4 separate regions of the Homo sapiens genome follow, and regions 2, 3 and 4 are each linked to region 1. The links are contacts of gene promoters, found by promoter capture Hi-C in blood cells and fetal thymus (Javierre and others, 2016). All regions are on one chromosome and are shown on one strand. Each heading gives the region's core, a stretch centred on a gene start or on the middle of the fragment in contact. The rest is flanking DNA. Distances are from core to core; before and after follow the strand shown.

Region 1 (5,263 bases), core at 751-3,250:
GGTCCTGCCTGGTATATGCCCTACAGCCAAGTTACAAGGCTCTCATTCCCCTCTCTTTCCTTCCCCTTTTTTTCCCTCCCTATCTTTTTTGACAGGGTCTCTGTCACCCAGGCTAGAGTGCAATGGTGCAATCATAGCTCACTGCAGCCTCAACCTCCTGAGGTCAAGTATCCTCCCACCTCAGCCTCCCAAGTAACTAACTACAGGCATGAGCCACCATGCCTGGCTAATTAAAAAAAAAAAAAAAAGTCTGGGCGCGGTGGCTCACGCCTGTAATCCCAGCACTTTGGGAGGCCAAGGTGGGTGGATCACCTGAGGTCCAGAATTCGAGACCAGCCTGACCAACATGGAGAAACCCCGTCTCTATTAAAAATACAAAATTAGCCAGGTATGGTGGTGCATGCCTATAATCCCAGCTATTCCAGAGGCTGAGGCAGGAGAATGGCTTGAACCCGGGAGGTGGAGGTTGCTGTGAGCTGAGATCGCACCATTGCACTCCAGCCTGGGCAACAAGAGTGAAACTCCATTTCAAAAAAAAAAAAAGTTAGAAGAGACAGGGTTTCACTTCATTGCTTAAGCTGATCTCCAATTCCTGGCCCCACGTGATGCTCCCACCTTGGCCTCCCAAAGTGCTGGGATTATAGGTGTGAGCCACTGTGCCCAGCCTTCTTTCTCATGAGAAATTAAAAATTCTGGCCAGGCGTGGTGGCTCACACCTGTAATCCCAGCACTTTGGGAAGCCGAGGAGGGTGGATCACCTGAGGTCAGGAGTTCAGGACCAGCCTGGTCAACATGGTGAAACCTCATCTCTACTAAAAATACAAAAATTAGTCGGTCATGGTGGTGCACGCCTGTAATATCAGCTACTCGGGAGGCTAAGGTGGGAGAATTGCTTGAACCTGGGAGGTGGAGACTGCGGTGAGCCGAGATCCCGCCACTGCACTCCAGCCTAGGCAACAGAGCGAGACCGAATCTAAAAAAAGAAAAAAAAAATCTAGTATTTTCTTCCCACCCCACGTAATTGTTTTGCACCCAGGGGTGAGTGCCCCCCACTTTGCAGACGTGCCTAGACCTCTCCCCACAAACATGATGACTAGAGTTGGAGCTGGGCTAGCGCTGCCTCTTGTTCACTGGGTTCACGTGGGCACGTGGCTCCACTCCGGTCACTGCTTCCTGGGCAGAGGGATGACGTGGAAGGTAGACCTAGGGGGGACAGGGTTGCTTCCTGCCCATGTCCAGCATTCTAGAATTGTCCACATCTAGGCAGGGCGTTCCACCATCAGTGCTGGACTGGACCACCCAATTCCTTTGGACGCTTGACTCAGCCCAAACCCGTGCTCCCTCCAGGACCCTGGGCAGGGCAGCCCCAGCTCCAGGTAATCGGCACTGAGAAGAGTACACCTGTCACCGCCTGGCAGGGGCTCGCTCCTTTCTCTGGTGCTGCTCATTCGCGAGGCCTGAGACGCGGACCGTCACCTTCCCCGGGCCCAGCCTGGCCTCAATGCAGGCCTCAGAGAGAGGGACAAAACCCGGCCCGCCTCCCTCCCCTCCCCAAGGCGACCACCAGTGTCCTGGGGGTCCACAGGGCCTCTCCAGCTCTGATCCGAGTTCCCGGCTGCAGCTGGTTTGGGTCTGTGGGGGCCTCGCGCAGGGAAGCGGAGGCCCCTTCTCTAGGCTCCTACATCCTCCTGGCCTGCCCCAGCAGAGCTAGCGGCCCTCCGAGACAGCTGGGCCTCGCAGCTCCCAGCCGAGGCCTGTCGCTGGGAGAAAGAAGAATGAATGAAGGGCGGAAGGGGCGGGGAGGGGCGGGGCGCGCCGCGCCAGCTCGCGGCGCCCCCAGGCCGGGCCGCAGCGGGGCGTGGCCTCTAGAGGCGTGGCCTTGGGCGTGGGGGCGGGGTTTTCTGGTGGGGGCGGGGCCGCGCAGGGCCGTTCCCGCCGCCGGCCGCCCGCGCCCCGCCCCCGTGCCGCAGCTCACAGGCCCCGCCTCGGTCCGCCCCTCCGCTCGCTCCCCAAGCCGCCGCGGCGCCGAGCCGGTTTCCCCGCCGGTGTCCGAGAGGCGCCCCCGGCCCGGCCCGGCCCGGCCCGCGCCCTCCGCCCCCGCCTCCCCGGGCCGGCGGCGGTGGGCGAGCTCGCGGGCCCGGCCGCCCCCAGCCCCAGCCCCGCCGGGCCCCGCCCCCCGTCGAGTGCATGAGGTTGACGCTACTTTGTTGCACCTGGAGGGAAGAACGTATGGGAGAGGAAGGTGCGCGGGCCGCGGGGTGTGGGGCGAGGGCCTGGAGGGGGTGCCCGGGGCAGCGTGGGGCACGGGAGGGGGCCGGGTCTGCCAGGAGGCCGCGCCCCTGCCTCCTCCGGGATGAGCTCGTCCTTACGAAGCCCGCAGGCCCCTCCCTGTCCCCCTCCCGCCCGGGATCCCCCTCCCCGGCCCCCGGCGAGCTGCCCTCCTGCGGGTCTGGGGGCCCCTGGACCCTTTTTCCTCCTCCCACGTCCCCCCGCGAAGGACTCCCAGACACTGCCCACCCCGCGTCGGCCTCCATCCGCGTGCTCTGTCCACCACCCGGGCCTCGCCCTGGGGCCACCCTTTATCCAGTCTCGGAAGAAAGAGCGGCTGGGGAAGCCGCAGCCCCGGGTCCCAGTGGCCGCCGGGCGCCTGCCCGGCTCTGTGACCTTGAGCCAGGCGCTGACTTCCTGGTCCTCAGTTTCCCCTTCTGTACATTTGGAAACTGGGTAGTTGCCCCCCCGGTGTCGGTGATTGGGGGCCAGATGGGTAGAGCGGAGATAGGCGTCCAGGAAGCCGGAGGCCGTGTACTGCGGGAGCCTCATCCACTCTCCCTGTCCGTGCCCCAAACCCGGTGCCTGCCCTCAGTCTTGGCTGGGAGCATGACTCATCCTAACCTCCTCTTTAGCCCCTTCTCCCTCACTGGGGCCCAAGGCGCAGTACTGCACTGCAGTTAGGGTTCAAGGACTCCCCCAGCCTAGGACAGGGTCTGGGGGCCCCTCCTTGGATCTCCTTCGCTGACCTGTCACTTAGATCCACCTGGCCCCAAGGCAGGGCCTGACTCCACACCTCCCCCTGCCACCAACTCTTCCCAGGCCCATGAAAACCTGATTGGGGTAGGGGCCCACCTTCCTGTAGCCCCTGCCTACCTAAGGTACCTGCGTCTTCACAGAGGGTCAGGCTGTTGTGGCCTTGGGACCTAGCTATGTGACTGGGCAAGCCATGCCATCTCTGGGGCTCAGTCTCCCCTTCTGTACAGTGGAGAGGGGCAGGTCTGGGGCATTTTCCAGGGCCCACCAGCTCCAAGGGTGCCAGGCCCCAAGGATGACTAAGCATGCCTGTGGCTGGCTAGAGGAGGTGCCAGGCCTCCCTGGGACAGGTGTCTGGGAGTACCCAGGTCTGCAGCCCCCTCCCCTTGCCAAGCCAGGGCATTCATTGCCAAGGATCTGTTAGGGCCGGCACCTCCAGGCTTCCTGCCCTTGACCTCCCAGCTGGCTTCAGCCCAGGATGCACTAATCCAGCCCTGTCCAGTCCCTGCCTTTGAAGGGCCCTCTTAGTACTTCTTCCTGGGCAGGAGAGGGAAGAAAGGAGGCTGTGATAGGAATGTCACCCACTGCCTTATCCCTAAAGCCACTGCTTCCTTTCTCCTCATTTACCTTGCCAGATCCAATGCTATAGCGGGAGGATGGACCTGATCCTCCTCCTAAGCTGATACATAGGGAAACAGGGCCAGAGAAGCTTGGCAACCTAGTCAGTATCTCAGCAAGACTCAGGCCAGCGCCCTTTCTTCTCCTATTTGGCACAGCGACTGCCCTGCCTGGGCGCTGCACATGTGCAGTGTGCGAGGATTGGTGCAGGTGTAGGTATATGTGGGGTGGGCAGGGCAAGCTGGGCCTGCACCAGATCACACTTCCTGAGAATGCTTCCCAACTCCCTTCCCACCCTGCAGGAAGCGAGTTGCCCGTGTGTGCAAGCTGCGGCCAGAGGATCTATGATGGCCAGTACCTCCAGGCCCTGAACGCGGACTGGCACGCAGACTGCTTCAGGTAGGGTGGGGTGCCCAGGGCCTGTGTTGCCCTAAACAAGGCCTGCCAGAGAGGACAGGCTGGTCAAGGAATGGGGGAGGCCGGGATATGCCTCCTGGTGCCGTCCCCTATTGTGACTTCGTGGCCTTAATTTACCATTTATGACATGAGGTGTTTTGACTAGAAAATCCCTACAGGCCTTCCTGTTGTCATTTTATTTATCTATTTTTTTTTCTTTTTGAGACGGAGTCTCGCTCTGTCACCCAGGCTGGAGTACAGTGGTGCGATCTTGGCTCATTGCAACCTCTTCCTCCTGGGCTCACGCAGTTCTCCTGTGTCAGCCTCTGGAGTAGCTGGGATTACAGGCGTGCACCACCACGCCCAGCTAATTTTTGTATTTTTAGTAGAGACGGGTTTTGCCATGTTAGCCAGGCTGGTCTGAAACTTCTGACCTCAAGTGATCTTCCCACCTCAGCCTCCCAAAGTGCTGGGATGACAGACATAAACCACCGCTCCTGGCCTCATTTTATTTTCTTTTATGTATTTTTCTTTTTTCGAAATGGTCTTGCTCTGTTGCCCAGGCTGGAGTGCAGTGGTGCCATCTCGGCTCATTGCAACCTCCATCTCCCGGGCTAAAGTGATCCTCCTACTTCAGCCTCCCGAGTAGCTGGGATTATAGGTATACACCACAATGCTCAGCTAATTTTTTAAATTTTGTGTAAAGACAGGGTCTCACTATTGAGACCCAGGCTGGTCTTGAACTTGTGACCTCAAGCAATCCTCCTGCCTTGGCCTCCGAAAGTGCTAGGCTTACAGGCGTGAGCTAACGCCTTGGCCTCTGTTGTCATCCTAGATCTCTGAGATCTAAATCTTAGAGAGGATGGGAGAGACCTCCAATTGAGCCAGTGCCTGCAATTCAGCCCCCTGCTGGCACCCAGACAGGGGGAAGAGTTGGAAGGAATGTCCCTCCTGCCTTCTGGGTGTTCATGCTCTTGCAGGGAGGGAAGACAAACCAGGCCTTAAGGGAAACCAGGCCACCCTCAGTGTCTTCCAGGCTGCTTGCGAACATGCATAACCCAGTCACACCAGCCCCAGTGTCCAGACACACACCCACAGGTAGGAAGAAAGTAGGGTCAGGGTTGTGGCGGAGGATAAAGAGTACATGAGGACCTGAAGGTCACCCAGTAGGACCATCCTGAGAAGCCAGGAGCAGGGGTCTACCTGCCTTGAGCCAGAGCAGGGC
Region 2 (5,263 bases), core at 1,614-4,113, 340 kb after region 1:
TTCATCATGTTGGCCAGGCTGGTCTCGAACTCCTGACCTCAGGTGATCCACCTGCCTCTGCCTCCCAAAGTGCAAGGATTACAGGCATGAGCCACCGCGCCCAGCCTATATATATATATTTTTTTTTAACTGGCCAAGCACAGTGGCACACTCTGTAGTCCCAGCTATTCAGGAGGCTGAGGCAGAAGGATTGCTTGAGCCTGGGAGGTCGAGGTTGCAGTGAGCTATGATTGTGCCACTGCACTCCAGCCTGGGCAACAGAGCAAGACCCTGTCTCAGAAAAAAAAAAAAAAAAAAGGCAGCACCTTGCAGCAGCTGAGACCCAAGTTCCAACTCTGACTTGGGCAGTAACCAGCCTGTGGCCCTGGGCAGAGCCCTTCCCTCCCCAGCTTCAGTTTTCTCATCTATAAAGTGGTAACATAAGCCCCAGGCAGGGGTCACAGCTGAACATCTTGGGAATCATGGTTTGGGTAGGGGTTGGGGGGACATCCTTCTCTGGGTCACTCCTGGGATGTGGCCCTGGGTCCAGCTTTGGGAAAATTAAATAAAGCTTGGAGCATCAGTGTTTTGGGGGTGGGGATTGAACCAGTGTGGTCTGAAGCAGGGGGCGGGGTGTCCTCATGACCCTTCCGCCCCAAGGTTCACAGTACTGGCCTTTGGAAGGCATCTCCATGGCATGGGGTTATGGCGACAACCACTGCTGCAACCCTCCCCCTCCAACACAGTGTCTGTCTCATGTTGAGGGAAGCTCAGAAACCGGGACTTCTAGGCCAGGCGCGGTGGCTCACGCCTGTAATCCCAGCACTTTGGGAGGCCGAGGAGGGCAGATCACCTGAGGTCAGGAATTTGAGACCAGCCTGGCCAACATGGTGAAACCCTGTCTCTACTAAACATACAAAAATTAGCCAGGCACAGTGGCTCATGCCTGTAATTCCAGCACTTTGGGAGGCCAAGGCAGGCAGATCATTTGAGGTCAGGAGTTCTAGACCAGCCTGGCTAACAGGGTGAAAACCCATCTCTACTAAAAATACAAAAATTAGCCGGGCGTGGCGGCAGGCGCCTGTAATCCCAGCTACTTGGTTGGCTGAGGCAGGAGAATGGCTTGAGCCCAGGAGGCGGAGGTTGCAGTGAGCCCCGCTGCACTCCAGCCTGGATGACAGAGCAAGACCCCGTCTCAAAAAAATAAACTGGGACTTCTCTTGCCCCACTTCTCTTTGCTCTGCCTGAGAGGGAGACATTGATCAAACCCTCCAGGTCTGATCGGGAAACATTTGCCTTCTCCTTTTGTGGGGTCCTGGGGTGAAGAACAGGAGGGGAGGCTGGAGGGTGGGTGACACCACGCACCCCTGGGCGGCAAGAGACCCACCAGCCAAGTCTTGCCTGTGATGCCTCCCATTTACCAGCAGGTGTCACCCTCGGCCCTCTCACTGCGGCTTGTCCATTCCACCCTCTGTCCAGACTGGGCTTTAGGGCTGCAAGGCTGGAGACACAGGCCAGCTTTGCACGTGGGAGCAACAACGGGGACCCAGGTGTCCCGGCTCCTAGTCCCAGAGCTCCCTGTCCCTGTTGCCTCCCAGACTTGGTTCAGGCCTCTCTGTGAGTATCCGTGTGTGTCCACACTTCCATCCCTGGGAGAGAGGCCGGCCAGGGCGTGGACATTCATTCCCTCTCTGGGACCGTGCCGGGCCAGGACTGTCCTGGCCTCCCTCCTCCCGCACAGCACTGCCTCCCCTCCCCGCAGGCTGGGCTCCCTCCACAGAGCTGACCCTGGCCTACTTTCTCAGTCCTGAACCCTCCCATCACGTCCCCCTTGCCAACCTCAGCTGGGCAGTCACCCTGGTCCCGCTCCCACTCCCCAAGAGAGGCTGGGAAGTGTTTTGAGACTGAAGTTGGGGTCCAGTGTAAATTCAGAAGGAACATGGTATAGGACGAATAACCAGGATGCTCACTTCTAGAAGCTTCTCTGGAACCTTGGGTAAGGCTGTGGGCCCTTTCTCTGGAGCTACCAGCAAAGGGAAGGACTTGCTGCCTCCAGGGTGGCTCCAGCCCCGTCTAGACCCCCTCCCAGCCACCCTCTCCCGCTGCCACAATTTCCAGCTGGCCCCACGCACAGCTGTGCCTCGGTTTCCCAGCAGCCCCAAGCCTGGAGTTCACCAGGAGCACCTTCACAGCCCCGCACCGGGTCCGCAGCCTGGGGTCCATCATATTCATCACACTCTGGGCCCTGTCCCCCACCCCCAGCTCAGGCCTCAGATCCTGCCTCCAACCCCACACCCCCAGGCCTTTCCAAGTGACCCACACACATGCATGGGCACACACACACAGATACATACACACATACACAGAGACACACATACATGTACACATCATATATATATACACGCACACAGAGACACATATAAACATGCACACACGTACACACATACATGTACACACGTACACACATGCATACACATATACATACACAAACACATACATACACAAACACTATAGACACGTACACAGACACACACAAATACGTACACATACACAAAAACTCATACACATACACAAACACGTACATACACAGACACACAAACACTACAGACACATGTACACACGGACAAATACACATACACACAGACACACATACATGTACACATATACACATGTACACAGGTACACACGCACATACACACGTTACACACAAAGAGATGTATACTCACATACACAAACATGCACATATATACACACAAACAATATACATACACATACACATACACACACGCATATACATGCATATACATCCACACTTGTGCACACATACACACATGCACACACACACACTTTTTCTTCACGGCCTGCAGAGACGCGCCCATCGGGGACTTGATTCACACCTCTCTCCCTAGAGGGGAGTGCTCTGTGTGCACCGCAACATATCTCTAACCTCTTTTTTTAAATTGACAAAAATTGTATCTATTTATGGTGTGCAATATGATGTTTTGAAATATGTATAAAGTGTGGACCAGCTACATCAAGCTAATTAGCATATGCATTACCTCATTTGTCTTTTTGTGGGGAGTGTGCTGAGAACGCTTAAAATCCACTGTCTTGGTACTTTGCAAGTTTAGAACACATTGTTATCAAGGATAGCCACCATGTTGTACTTGGATCTCTTGAACTTAGTCCTCCTAACTGAAATTTTTGTGTGTTTTTTTCCTTGTGTGTGTGTGACAGAGTCTCACTCTGTTGCCCAGGCTGGAGTGCAGTGGTGCAATCAGCTCACTGCAGCCTTCATCTCTGGGCTCAAGCCGTCCTCCTGCCTCAGCCTTCCAAGTAGCTGGGACTACAGGTGTGCACCACCATGCCCAGCTAATTGTTTGTATTTTTAGAGAGATGGGGTTTTGCCATGTTGCCCAGGCTGGTCTCGAACTCTTGGGCTCAAACGATTGGCCTGTCTCAGCCTCCTAGATTGCTGGGATTACAGGCATGAGCCACCACTGCCACCCCCACATCTCTGACTCTCAGCCCAGGGCGTGGCACACAGGTGCCCACGAGTGGCTGTCAGACGGATTGATCAATTCCACCACTGCACAAACTTCCATCTTCAATCTTGCACTCCACCTCAACTGCTCTCCCAGAGCTCCAGACACTGCCAGGTTGCCCCCGCATCCTGACAAACTGTCCTCTTTCTGTACCCTTTCCAAGTCATCTAATTGTCCTCATTTTTGTTTTTTTTTTTTTTTTTTTGTAATTTGAGTTTATTTGACCATCTTGATCCGAAATGTTCAAGCTTTTGGCTATAGTTTTCTTCATTTATTTATTCAATATTTTTTAGTAACTCTATTAATTAATTGATTTCCTTCCTTCCTTCCCTCCCTCCCTCCTTCCCTCCCTCCCTCCTTCCCTCCCTCCCTCCTTCTCTTCTTCCTTCCCTCCTCCCTCCCTGCCTCCTTCCTTTCTGCCCACCCACTTTCTTTCTTTCCTTCTTTCTTTCTTTTTCTTTCTTTCCTTTCTTTCTTTCTTTTTTCTTTCTTTTTCTTTCCTTCCTTCTTTCTTTCTCTTTCTTCTTTCTCTTTCTTTCTCTCTTTCTCTCTCTTTCTTTCTTTCTCTTTCCTCCCTTCCTTTATCTCTTTTTCTTTCTTTCTTTTTCCTTCTTTATTTTGAAGTGGAGTCCCGCTCTGTCACCCAAGCTGGAGTGCAGTGGCGCAATCTCTGTTCACTGCAACCTCTGCTTCCCGTGTTCAAGCGATTCTCCTGCCTCAGCCTCCCAAGTAGCTGGGATTACAGGCATGCGCCACCACGCCCAGCTAATTTTGTATTTTTAGTAGAGTCAGGGTTTCACCATGTTGGTTAGGCTGGTCTCAACTCCTAACCTCAGGTGATCCACCCAGAATTGTTTTCTTTAAAACAACTTTTCTGTACTGGACATGGTGGCTCACACCTGTAATCTGGCACTTTGGGAGGTCGAGGCGGGAGGATTGCTTGAGCTTAGGAGTTCGAGACCAGCCTGGGCAACATGGTGAAACCCCAGGCATGGCGGCACATGTCTGTAATCCCAGCTACTGGGGAGGCTGACGTGGGAGGATCACCTGAGTCCAGGAGGCCGAGGCTGCAGTGAGCCATGATCATGCCACTGCCCTCCAGCCTGGATGACAGAGCGAGACCCTGTCTCAAATAAATAAATAATAAATAAATAAATAAAGCTGTTTTTCTTTCTTTCTTTCTTTCTTTCTTTCTTTCTTTCTTTCTTTCTTTCTTTCTTTCGTTTGTTCTTTCTTTCCTTCCTTCTTTCTTTCTTTTATTTCAGTCCTCTTTACTTGAAAGTTTATCTCTTGTTCAGAAAATAAATATGGGCCAGGTGCGGTGGCTCATGCCTGTAATCCTAGCACTCTGGGAGGCTGAAGCAGGAGGCTCACTTGAGCCCAGGAGCTGGAGATCAGTCTGGGCAACATAGTGAGACACTGTATCTTTTTGGGGATTTTTTGGACAGAGTCTTGCTCTGTCGCCAGGCTGGAGTGCAGTGGCGTGACCTTGGCCCTCGGCTCACTGCAACCTCTGCCTCCTGAGATCAACTGATTCTCCTGCCTCAGCCTCCTGAGTAGCTGGGACTACAGGTGTGCGCCACCACACCCAGCTAATTTTTTTGTATTTTTAGTAGAGACAGGGTTTCACCATGTTGGCCAAGATGGTCTCAATCCCTTGACCTCGTGATCCCCCTGTCTCGGCCTCCCAAAGTGCTGGGATTACAGGCACGAGCCATCACGCCCTGCCTGACCCCCAG
Region 3 (5,263 bases), core at 906-3,405, 310 kb after region 1:
ACTGCACTGTTTCCTGCAGACCCCAAATGTGGCCTCAGAACCATTATCATCATAGTACTCCAGGTAGATCCTGTCAGTTGATTAAGAGGTGACATGGGAGATAAAACCCATTTGACATCAGGTATTTAAAATGTCTTGCTGGCCAGGGGTGGTGGCTCAAACTTGTAATCCCAGCGTTTTGGGAAGCCAAGGCGGGAGGATCACTTGAGGCCAGGAGTTCAAGATGACCCTGGGCGACATAGCAAGACCCTGTCTCTATTTTTTAAAAATAGATAAAATGTCTTGCCTCATGAGATTTCTTGGGTAAATGTTTTGGGGTTATGTGTGTGTGTGTGTGTGTGTTTTAATTAAACAAATATATTGTCTTTTCTTTAAAAATTTTATTTATTATTATTTTCTTTGAGACAGCCTTGCTCTGTTGCCCAGGCTGGAGTGCAATGGCACGATCTTGGCTCACTGCAACCTCCACCTTCCAGGTCCAAGTGATTCTCCTGCCTCAGCTGCCCGAGTACCTGGGATTACAGGCACTTACCACCACGACTGGCTAATTTTTGTATTTTTAGTAGAGATGGGGTTTCACCATGTTGGCCAGGCTGGTCTCAAACTCCTGACCTCAAATGATCCGCCCACCTCGGCCTTCTGAAGTGCTGGGATTACAGGCGTGAGCCACTGTGCTCTGCACTCCCCCCACAACAACTTTAAAAAGTACTCTAGGAAAGGTCAAGTCCTCAGGACCATCCCAGCCCCAAATCCTGGCCCCTCTTGGGCTTTGGTTGAATTGTGTCTACTGTGGCCCCTCGTGGCACAGATGCCATCTAGTAGCCCATGTCCCCCACCAGTTGGTCAGCCCCTGGACACTTGGCAAATTGCTAGAGTGTGGGAGCTGGAGGAGCCAGGGCTGAGTGCAGTGGTTCTGTGCCCGCCTCACCCCCAGGAGCCTGAACGAACTGCGGGTGTTGCTGCTGGAGGCCAATCGTCACTCCCCAGGGCCGGAGAGGGACCTGAGCCGTGAGGTACACAAGGCTGAGTGGCGGATCAAGGAGCAGAAACTCAAGGATGACATCCGGGGCCTGCGTGAAAAGCTGACCGGGCTGGTATGTGGGGTAGGGGTGGCCTAGGGGCAGGGGCACTAGTCCGGGTGGGGCTGGGCTAGCCTTGCTGTCAGGCCATGGAGACTGGAGACCTCCTGGAATGACCCCAGGGACAGCTGAGTCATGGTGAGGATTTGAAATCTTCTAGGACCACAGGCAGGTGGAGGGACCCTGGCTAGCCGCTTTTGCAGACATCATGGCTGCCTATGTGGCAGTCTGTGTGATACGGTGCAAAGGAAAACTTCCTATCTGACCTGTCCAGAGGCAGGATGAGCCAATACAGGTAAAGAGCTCCCTGTTCAGAGGAGTAATCAACCACAAGCCAGTTCCTTGCTCAGGGTCCTGCAGTGGGGCTTCACACATCAGTCTCAGGAAGGAGACAAGAACTTGAAAGTCTACAGCAAGCCTGGGATTCTGGGTGGCTGAGTTTTTTTTGTTTTTTTTTTTTTTTTTTGAGACAGAGTCTCGCTCTGTTGCCCAGGCTGGAGTGCAGTGGCGCGATCTCAGCTCACTGTAAGCTCTGCCTCCCTGGTTCACACCATTCTCCTGCCTCAGCCTCCCAAGTAGCTGGGACTACAGGCACCCGCCACCACGCCTGGCTAATTTTTTTGTATTTTTAGTAGAGACAGGGTTTCACCGTGTTAGGCAGGATGGTCTCGAACTCCTGACCTTGTGATCCTCCTGCCTCGGCCTCCCAAAGTGGTGGGATTACAGGTGTCAGCCACTGCGCCCGGTCGAGATTTCTTTTCTATTATGAATAGGAACCTGACTTCACTGAGTCTGCAGAGACGGGTTGGGGTAGGCAGGTGATGCTGGTAGCATAGCACAGGACCATCCCCATCCCTTGGCCAGGCGCAATGGCTCACACCTGTAATCCCAGCACTTTGGGAGGCTGAGGCAGGCGGATCACTTGAGGTCAAGAGTACGAGACCAGCCTGGCCAACATGGCGAAACCCCATCTCTGCTAAAAATACAAAAATTAGCCGGGCATGGTGGAGTGTGCCTGTAATCCCAGCTACTTGGGAGGTTGAGGCAGGAGAATCACTTGAACCCAGGAGGCGGAGGTTGGAGTGAGCTGAGATTGCGCCACTGCACTGCAGCCTGGGCGACAGAGTGAGACTTTGTCTCAAAAAAAAAAGAATAAAGAAACCACCCCATCCCCATCCCATCCTCCTGTGATGAGCACTCAGGACAAGCCTGAGCCTGGTGAACGTCACGATATGGAGGGCGTGGGGTCCAGGAGGACAGGCCCTTGCCTGGGAAAGCTGTCCTGAAGCCCCCCACCACCCTCCTGCCCAGACATTGGGCTCAGCCACTGTAGAGGTGATGGAAGGAGAGCAGGGCCCAGCCCTGGGCAAGGGGGTGGTTCACAGGCTGGAGGGAGGGCCTCAGCGCCACCGACCCCCTATATCCGGGAGTAGGCCCTTGGCCCTCAGGGTTCCGGGATAAAGAGCATCACTCTGGCCACACACCCAGACTGTGGCTGTGGGGGTCACTGAGTCCTGCCGGCCTTCAAGTCCTGGCCTATCTGGCTAGCAGGGGTTGGTGGCTGCACCCTCTGTGGTCCCTGTGGCTCAACAGAAGATAAGCCCCTGGGGTTGGCACGGACTGGGGAGTCTTGAATACCCCCAGGGGCTTCCCTAGAGCCTTGTAGGAGTGCGCAGTGCTGAGCTCAGACTGGTGCCCATGGGGCACAGATTGGTCAAGTTTACTTGGGAAGTGGCGGCCTCTGCCCCAGGGTAGCCTCTTGTCTCATCATCTCCCTGCACTGTGTCCACGGGAGAACTTGGGAAGCCTTGGTGTGTGGGTAGAAGCCTCTTGATTTCAGGATGGAGGTTCTGTTGGGAGGTGGTTTGGAGGGTCAGAGCAGGCAGGACTGGGCAGTGCTGAAGGATGGAGTTTGTGCAGGAGCGAGGAGGCTGGCGGGCCTTGGGGCAGGTACAGCTCTGGGTGCCATGGTGGGGGTGACTATGGAGAGGAGGAACCTCATAAGACAGTTGGGTGGGGGCAGTGTAAGAAGAAGGGTGCTGGGTGCGGTGGCTCATGCCTATAATCCCACTGCTTTGGGAGGCCAAGTTGGGAGGATGGCTTGAGGTCAGGAGTTCGAGACCAGCCTGGACCTCATAACAAGACCGCATCTCTACAAAAAAAGTTAAAAATTAGCCAAGTGTGGTTGCATGCCCTGCAGTATCAGCTACTCGGGAGGCTGAGGTGGGAGGATCACTTGAGCCCAGGAATTGGAGGCTGTAATGAGCTGTGATTGCACCACTGCACTCCAGCCTGCACAATAGAGTGAGACTCAGTCTTTTTTTGGGGGGGGGGGGGTGGGGACCAAGTCTCACTCTGTCGCCCAGGCTGGAGTGCAGTGGCATGATCTTGGCTCACTGCAACCTCCACCTCCCGGGTTCAAGCGATTCTCCTGCCTAGGCCTCCAGAGTAGCTGGGACTACAGATGTGAGCCACCACACCCTGCTAATTTTTGTACTTTTAGTAGAAATGGGGTTTTACCATGTTGACCAGGCTGGTCTCGAACTCCTGACCTCAGGTGATCTGCCTGCCTCGGCCTCCCAAAGTGCTGGGATTACAGGCGTGAGCCACCAGGCTCGGTCTCTGTCTCTTTTTTTAATTATTTTTAAAGGCAAGGCTGGGCGCAGTGGCTCATGCCTGTAATCCCAGCACTTTGGGAAGCCGAGGCGGGTGGATCACGAGGTCAGGAGATTGAGACCATCCTGGCTAACACGGTGAAACCACGTCTCTACTAAAAATAGGAAAAAATTAGCGGGGCGTGGTGGTGGGCCCCTCCCAGCTACTCAGGAGGCTGAGGCAGGAGAATGGCATGAACCCGGGAGGCGGAGCTTGCAGAGACCCAAGATCGCGCCACTGCACTCCAGCCTAGGTGATAGAGCGAGACTCTGTCTCAAAAAAAAAAAAAAAAAAAAAGTCAAGAGGGATGGGGTCCTGGGTTCCCCACTTGGAGACCATGGAGCACCTCACAGAGGCCTGAGGGACCTCTGGGTGATGCCCAGGCTTGGAACCCAGAGACAAAGTGAGGCTGGAAGACTTTCCTGCCTAGAGTTGAGACGCCCACCAACACACACACGCACACTCATGTACTCTTCCACTCTCCTGCCACTTCCAGGACAAAGAGAAATCCCTGTCGGATCAGAGGCGCTACTCCCTCATCGACCGGTCCTCGGCGCCCGAGCTTCTGCGGCTGCAGCACCAGCTGATGAGCACGGAGGACGCCCTGCGGGATGCGCTGGACCAGGCTCAGCAGGTGGAGAAGCTGATGGAGGCCATGAGGAGCTGCCCTGACAAGGCCCAGGTGAGCCGCGGCTGACAGGGCCCACCAGGAGGCAAGCCACGGGGCAGTGTCCTCGGAGCCCCCGTCTGATGCGGGAGGCAGCCTTGTCTTTAAAACCCCAGTCTGAGGAGGTAGGGAGCTCGTCCCAGGAACCTGGTCTGAAGGGGGAGGTAGCCCTGTCCCAGAAACCCTGGTTTGAAGAAGGAGGCAGCTCTGTCCTGGGAACCCCAGTCTGAAGGGGGAGGCAGCCCTGTCTCAGGAACCCGGGTCTGAATGGGGAGGTAGCTCTGTCCCGGGAACCCCTGGTCTGAAGGGGGAGGCAGCTCTGTCCCAGGAACCCTGATGTGAAGGGGGAGGCAGCTCTGTCCCAGAAGCCCCCGGTCTGAAGGGGGAGGTAGCTCTGTCCCGGGAACCCTAGTCTGAAGGGGGAGGCATTTCTGTCCTAGGAACCTTGATCTGAAGGGAGAGGCAGCTCTGTCCTGGGAACCCTAGTCTGAAAGGGAAGGCATCTCTGTCCCGGGAACCTTGATCTGAAGAGGGAGGCAGCTCTGTCCCGGAACCCTGGTCTGAAGGGGGAGGCAGCTCTGTCCCGGGAACCCTGGTCTGAAGGGGGAGGTGGCGCTGTCCCAGGAACCTCCATCAGAAATGGGAGGCAGCCCTGGCCCAGGAACCCTGATCTAAAGCGGGAGGCAGCTCTGTCCTGGGAACCCAGCTGAAAGGGGAGGGAGCCCTGCCCTCTGGAACCCCCAGTTCAAGGGGCACATGGCTTTGCCCTGAGGAGCTTAGACTAAGAAGGAAGATGCAGCCTTACCCCTAGAGGCTTGGTCTTTGGGGGTGCTGGGAGCCCCAGGCTGAAGGGGTTGGAATT
Region 4 (5,263 bases), core at 967-3,466, 300 kb after region 1:
GCATTTCCCTTGTCCCCGAGAGCATGCCTGGGGCAGTCAAGGAAGGGGTCACCTGGCTTAGAGGAGGAGGAGCTCCTTGGCCCTCTGTTAGAGGGGCAGTGCGCCCTGGTGACCAGGGAGAACCGAAGCTGGTCTGAGCTGACCTGGCTGCATCCCCCCGCACAGAGCAGACCTGGAGAGATGGGACCTCCGTGCAGAGGACGGGCTTTGATTTACCCATACATGTCTTAGGGTGCAGGGCTCCTAGGACCCGGGACCTCAGACCCTGTGCCCTGGGGCTGGCACAGACCTGAAGGCAAGCTCTGCCTATCCCCCTGGGGGCACCCATCTCCAACTTAGAAGCTCACCTGGGGAATCAGCGGCAGCCCCCTTTCTGCCAGTCCTAATGAGACTTTAGCAACGGTGCCAACGAGTACTTCCCCAGAATGTGGGAGTTCCCGGAGTGGGGTCTGGAAGGCTAGAGGGGGTGGCCCTAAAGAGGTCGCTGTCACCAATGTCAATTTTGCTCCAAATCTAGAAATTCCTTAAGCATCTACCCCTTCTTCCTTCAGCTGAACCCATCCTCCCAGCCCCTCTGAGGAGGTCAACACCCAGGTGGGCTGTGCCCACTCCACCAGGGCCAGGAAGGGCCTTTTGAGTGGCTCTGGGTACCACGTCTTATGCCAGGCCCTATGTGACTCCATTTCACCTTAACATCCTTAGATTGATACTGGCTCCATTTCACAGGTGAGCAAACCAAGACTTTCCCAGGTCCACAGCCTCTCAGTGGCAGAGATGTTCAACCCCATTCCCTGTGGGGCTGACAGAGAGTGCCCAAGACAACAGGAATTAATTCATAGGAGGGATGGCTAGCAACGGACTCTTGCCTGTATACAAATTGTACTCAGAGATTCTTGAGTTTCCAGTTCCCCCACATACATTTTTTTTTTTTTTGAGATGGAGTTTTGCTCTTGTTGCCCAGGCTGGAGTGCAGTGGTGGGATCTCGGCTCACTGCAACCTCCGCCTCCCAGGTTCAAGCAATTCTCCTGTATCAGCCTCCCAAGTAGCTGCAATTACAGGCATGCACCACCACGCCCAGCTAATTCTTATATTTTTAGTAGAGGTGGGGTTTCGCCAGGTAGTCCAGGCTGGTCTCAAACTCCTGACTTCAGGTGATCTGCCCGCCTCGGCCTCCCAAAGTGCTGGGATTACAGGCGTGAGGCACCATCCCTGGCCTTTTTTTTGGTTTTGTTTTTGAGACAGGGTCTTGTTCTGTCTCCCAGGCTGGAGTGCAGTGGCATGATCATGGCTCACTACAGTCTCAACCTCCCAGGCTTGAGCGAGCCTCCCACTTCAGCCTTCCAAGTCGCCAGGACCACAGGTGTGCCCCACCACACCTGGCTAATTTTTATAGTTTTTGTAGAGATGGGGTTTCCTCATGTTGCCCAGGCTGGTCTCAAACTCCTGGGCTCAAGCTGTCTGCCCGCCTTTGCCTCCCAAAGTGCTGGGATTACAGGGAGTAGGTACTGCACCTGACCACCCTCATGTATATTCAAACCAGAATTTAGGGGTGGGTGTGGTGGCTCACACCTATAATTCCAGCATTTCGAGAGGCTGAGGCAGGAGGATTGCTTCAGGCCAGGAGTTTGAGACCAGCCTGGACAACATAGTTAGACCCCATCTCTACAAAAATAAAAAATTAGCCGAGTACAGTGGTAGTGTACCTGTAGTCCCCAGCTACGCTGGAGGCTGAGGCAAGAGGATCACTTGAGCCCAGGTGTTTGAGGCTGCAGTGAGCTATGATTGCACCACTGCACTCCAGCCTGAGTGACAGTGTGAGGCTGTGACTCAAGAAAATACACAAACCAAAAAAACCCGAGAATTTAGCATGTGGGCAGTAAGTTCTCAGGACTAATGAATCCAGGGGGCTTTTTTTGTCTAAAAGGAAATCTTTTTGCATCATGCCTTGAGGTCCCTTGTAATGGCCTTCCTGCCCCTTCTCCCAGGAAGGGATTTTGTTTTTTAGCAAGTGCTCTTCCAGGATCCTGGGCTGAAAGAAAAGGAAGAAACCCAAATTAGCTTACGTGCACATGGCCTGATTAGCTGTTCAGGGCAGGCAGAAACAGCCTGCAACTCAGGAACTGAATTCCCTGAGCGGGGAGGTTTGAGGTTGCTGTGGTTCCACAGAGCATGGGGGACAGAGGCCTGAGGATGCCTCCCCCAGTCCCTGCCCCTCATTCACAGGTGCCCTTGGACCAAGAAGTAGTAGTGGCCCCAGAAAGCCCATCTCCTGGCCGGGCGCGGTGGCTCACACCTGTAATCCCAGCTACTCAGGAGGCTGAGGCACAAGGATTACTTGAACCCGGGACGTGGAGGTTGCAGTGAGCCAAGATCGTGCCACTGCACTCCGGCCTGGGCAACAGAGGGAGACTCCGTCTGGAAAAAAAAAAAAAAGCCCATCTCTTGATTTTCTGTATACACTGGGGCTTAGTCTAAACGCATATGTCCCCATGTTCAGAGGTTTAGGCCTAAGCACAACTGGACTTTTGGTCTCAGGTAGTAAATATGGGAATTTTAAAAATTATTTTAGTGGCCAGGTGCTGTGGCTCACACCTGTAATCCCAGCACTTTGGGATGCCAAGGCAGGTGGATCACCTGAGGTCAGGAGTTTGAGACCAGCCTGGCCAACATGGTGAAAACCCGTCTCTACTAAAAATACAAAAAATTAGCCGGGCATGGTGGCGGGCGCCTGTAGTCCCAGCTACTCGGGAGGCTGAGGCAGGAGAATCGCTTCAGAGTCCTGGAGGCAGAGGTTGCAGTGAGCCGAGATCACGCCACTGCACTCCAGCCTGGGCGACGGAGTGAGACTCCATCTCAAAAAATAATAATAAAAAAACCCCAAAATTAGCTGGGCGTGGTGGTGGGCACCTGTAATCCCAGCTACTCGCTCGGGAGGCCGAGGCAGGAGAATCGCTTGAACCCGGGAGGTGGAGGTTGCAGTGAGCTGAGATTGAGCCATTGCACTCTAGCCTGGATATCAGGGCGAGACTCCTTCTCAAAAAAAAAGAAAAAGAAAAATTTAGTGTGAGCCTCATTACTGCATCGTATATAAATTATGATCCAAGGGGCTTAGTTCATTACAACTAATTGAGACTCAAATGGGACTTGGGATGTATGAACAGAAGTATGAGGGGCAGGATGATAGAGGTGACTGCCTACTCAGCTCTGTGCTTCCCTGATCTGCAGTGCCAGACTCTGGCTGGCTCGGAGGACAGCCAGCCTGGGCAGGAGACTGGAAACTCCTGCCAAGAGTGGCAGGGAGCCTATTGGTTGTGTTTTGACTTTTGTCATAGTGATGTGTGCCAGGCTGATTTTTTTTTTTAATAGGTCTTTTCTTCTTTGGCCTCTGGGTTTATTATTAAAAAGAAATGTTGGAGAGAAAGAAGCTAGCATTTAATGAAGTCCCTCCAGGAGGTGGCCCCAAGCACGCTGTGCACACACTAACCCAAAGCAGCCAATATTTGTTTGATGGATGGGAAACTGAGGCCAGAAGTCTTGTCTCTGGGAGACAGAGAAACAAATTCCCAGGACAAATTTCTGTAGGCATTGCAGGGAAGGAGCCATCTGTTTAATATAATAAACATTTTCAACAAAGGAAGGGTAGGAGGTATTCATGTATAAGCTGCACAGGCGGCCTTCAGCAGAGCTGGGTGCAGAATGGGGGTCCTCTGTTGTCAGGGAGGTCCGACTGAGGACGTCTGCACTCCCTGCCACCGCAGCAAGTCCCTGAGTCCGTCACTGAGGTCCCCCTTTGTAGGAGTAGGGTGTGCAAACTGCAGGTGTGCTTGCTGGGCTGGCTGGGGCTGGGGCCAAGGGGCAGAGGTGAGCATCCCCCTTACAGGGGCTCTTTTTGCAGATGATTGAGTCGAATGACATTTCAGAGGAGACGATCAGGACGAAGGAAACTGTGGAGGGTGAGTGGCCACCAGGCCGGGCGGGACTCTGGGCTCTGGGAAGAGGCTGGCTGGCTCTGCCTTCCTGCTGGGTCACATTTTGGTTTGCATCATCTGCCATTTGGTAAGAGTCACCTCCTGTGTGCTGTGAGCTATGTACTCCTGCAAGGGAGGAGGCCAGTTTACGGAGGGATAGGCATTGCACCAGCCTTCCAAGTTGCTGTCTTTTTTTTCTTTTTCTTTTGAAACAGATTTAACGGAATAGTAAACTTAATGGAATATCAAACCTTATTATTTGTTTGGTTTATATTTTATTTTTATTTATTTATTTAGTTTATACTTTACTTTTATTTATTTATTTATTTTAGACGGAGTTTCGCTCTGTCGCCAGGCTGGAGTACAGTGGTGTGATCTCAGCTCACTGCAACCTCCAACTCCCTGGTTCAAGCGATTCTCCTGCCTCAGCCTCCCGAGTAGCTGGGATTACAGGCATGCACCACCATGCCCAGCTAATTTTTGTATTTTTAGTAGAGACGGGGTTTCACCATGTTGACCAGGGTGGTCTCGATCTCCTGACTGCGTGATCCGCCCGCCTTGGCCTCCCGAAGTGTTGGGATTACAGGCATGAGCCACCGTGCCTAGCTGGTTTAAACTTTAAAAACAGGTCTAAACTTCAAATGGTTCAAAGGGCATATGGCAAACTAACTCTTCACTGTTCTCTATTCTTCCCTCCCTGAAGGCGCAGTGTTAGCTTCTTTATATCCCCTTTCCAGAAATATTTTGTGCAGGTACGAGCAAGCAAGTGACACAAATGGTACCATATCTTCCATTCTTTCAGCTCCTTCATTTATTCCATTTAACAATGTATCTTGGAGAGGGTTCCTTATCAGTAGTACATTCTTTTACAGGGTACAGAATATTCCATTGTGTGGAGGTACCATTGTGTATTTAGCTGGTTTCCGATAACAATCACAGATTGTTTCCAGTCTTGGTCAGTTACAAAGATGGTAGACTGTTTCCAGTCTTGGTCAATTACAAACACCACTGTAGAAAATTACCTTGACTTCCATTGGGCTCAACCAATTTTAATTCCCACCAGCTGTGGTTGAAAACCTGTTTCCCCTCAAACTCCCATCAACAAAACGTTTGATCAGACTTTGTGATCTTTGCCAATCTGAAAGGTAAAAGGTGTAACTTCAACTCACCTTTCTCTTATGTGGATGAAGTTAAGAGGTATTTCTATTTGCATTTTTTTTTTGAGACGGAGTTTCACCCTTGTTGCCCAGGCTGGAGTGCAATGATGCGATCTCAGTTCACTGCAACCTCCGCC

The links. Contacts are between HindIII fragments. The CHiCAGO score rates a contact against its expected background, and 5 or more counts as called.
Region 2: a contact is called between a fragment that was not itself captured here and the fragment with the promoter of LIMK1 in region 1, in 2 of 17 cell types (naive B cells and total B cells). The highest score is 7.9, in naive B cells.
Region 3: a fragment that was not itself captured here is called in contact with the fragment with the promoter of LIMK1 in region 1 in 10 of 17 cell types (neutrophils, fetal thymus, naive CD8 T cells and 7 more); the score reaches 13.1 in neutrophils.
Region 4: a contact is called between a fragment that was not itself captured here and the fragment with the promoter of LIMK1 in region 1, in 6 of 17 cell types (naive B cells, megakaryocytes, neutrophils and 3 more). The highest score is 7.6, in naive B cells.

Annotation. Positions count from the first base shown.
Region 1 is chr7:74,081,804-74,087,066 of GRCh38, forward strand. It overlaps LIMK1 (LIM domain kinase 1), which reads left to right and starts at 2,001. Exons shown (of 16, transcript NM_002314.4): 1 at 2,001-2,242; 2 at 3,945-4,041. The coding sequence starts at 2,188. RefSeq lists enhancers at 701-1,379, 1,375-1,484, 1,380-2,058, 2,545-2,814, 3,326-3,925 and 1 more and silencers at 1,755-2,024, 2,145-2,194, 2,305-2,354. The HindIII fragment of the contact is 9,779 bases long and covers 1-3,731 here.
Region 2 is chr7:74,416,165-74,421,427 of GRCh38, forward strand. No RefSeq gene overlaps it. Among named protein-coding and RNA genes, the nearest start is that of GTF2IRD1, 35 kb to the right of the region's middle. RefSeq lists a silencer at 1,332-1,461. The HindIII fragment of the contact is 1,814 bases long and covers 1,957-3,770 here.
Region 3 is chr7:74,396,140-74,401,402 of GRCh38, forward strand. CLIP2 (CAP-Gly domain containing linker protein 2) reads left to right here. Exons shown (of 17, transcript NM_003388.5): 14 at 935-1,094; 15 at 4,231-4,416. Among named protein-coding and RNA genes, the nearest start is that of GTF2IRD1, 55 kb to the right of the region's middle. The HindIII fragment of the contact is 6,759 bases long and covers 1-5,263 here.
Region 4 is chr7:74,376,910-74,382,172 of GRCh38, forward strand. It overlaps CLIP2 (CAP-Gly domain containing linker protein 2), which reads left to right. Exons shown (of 17, transcript NM_003388.5): 11 at 3,897-3,954. Among named protein-coding and RNA genes, the nearest start is that of GTF2IRD1, 74 kb to the right of the region's middle. RefSeq lists enhancers at 3,391-3,891, 3,892-4,392. The HindIII fragment of the contact is 8,624 bases long and covers 1-5,263 here.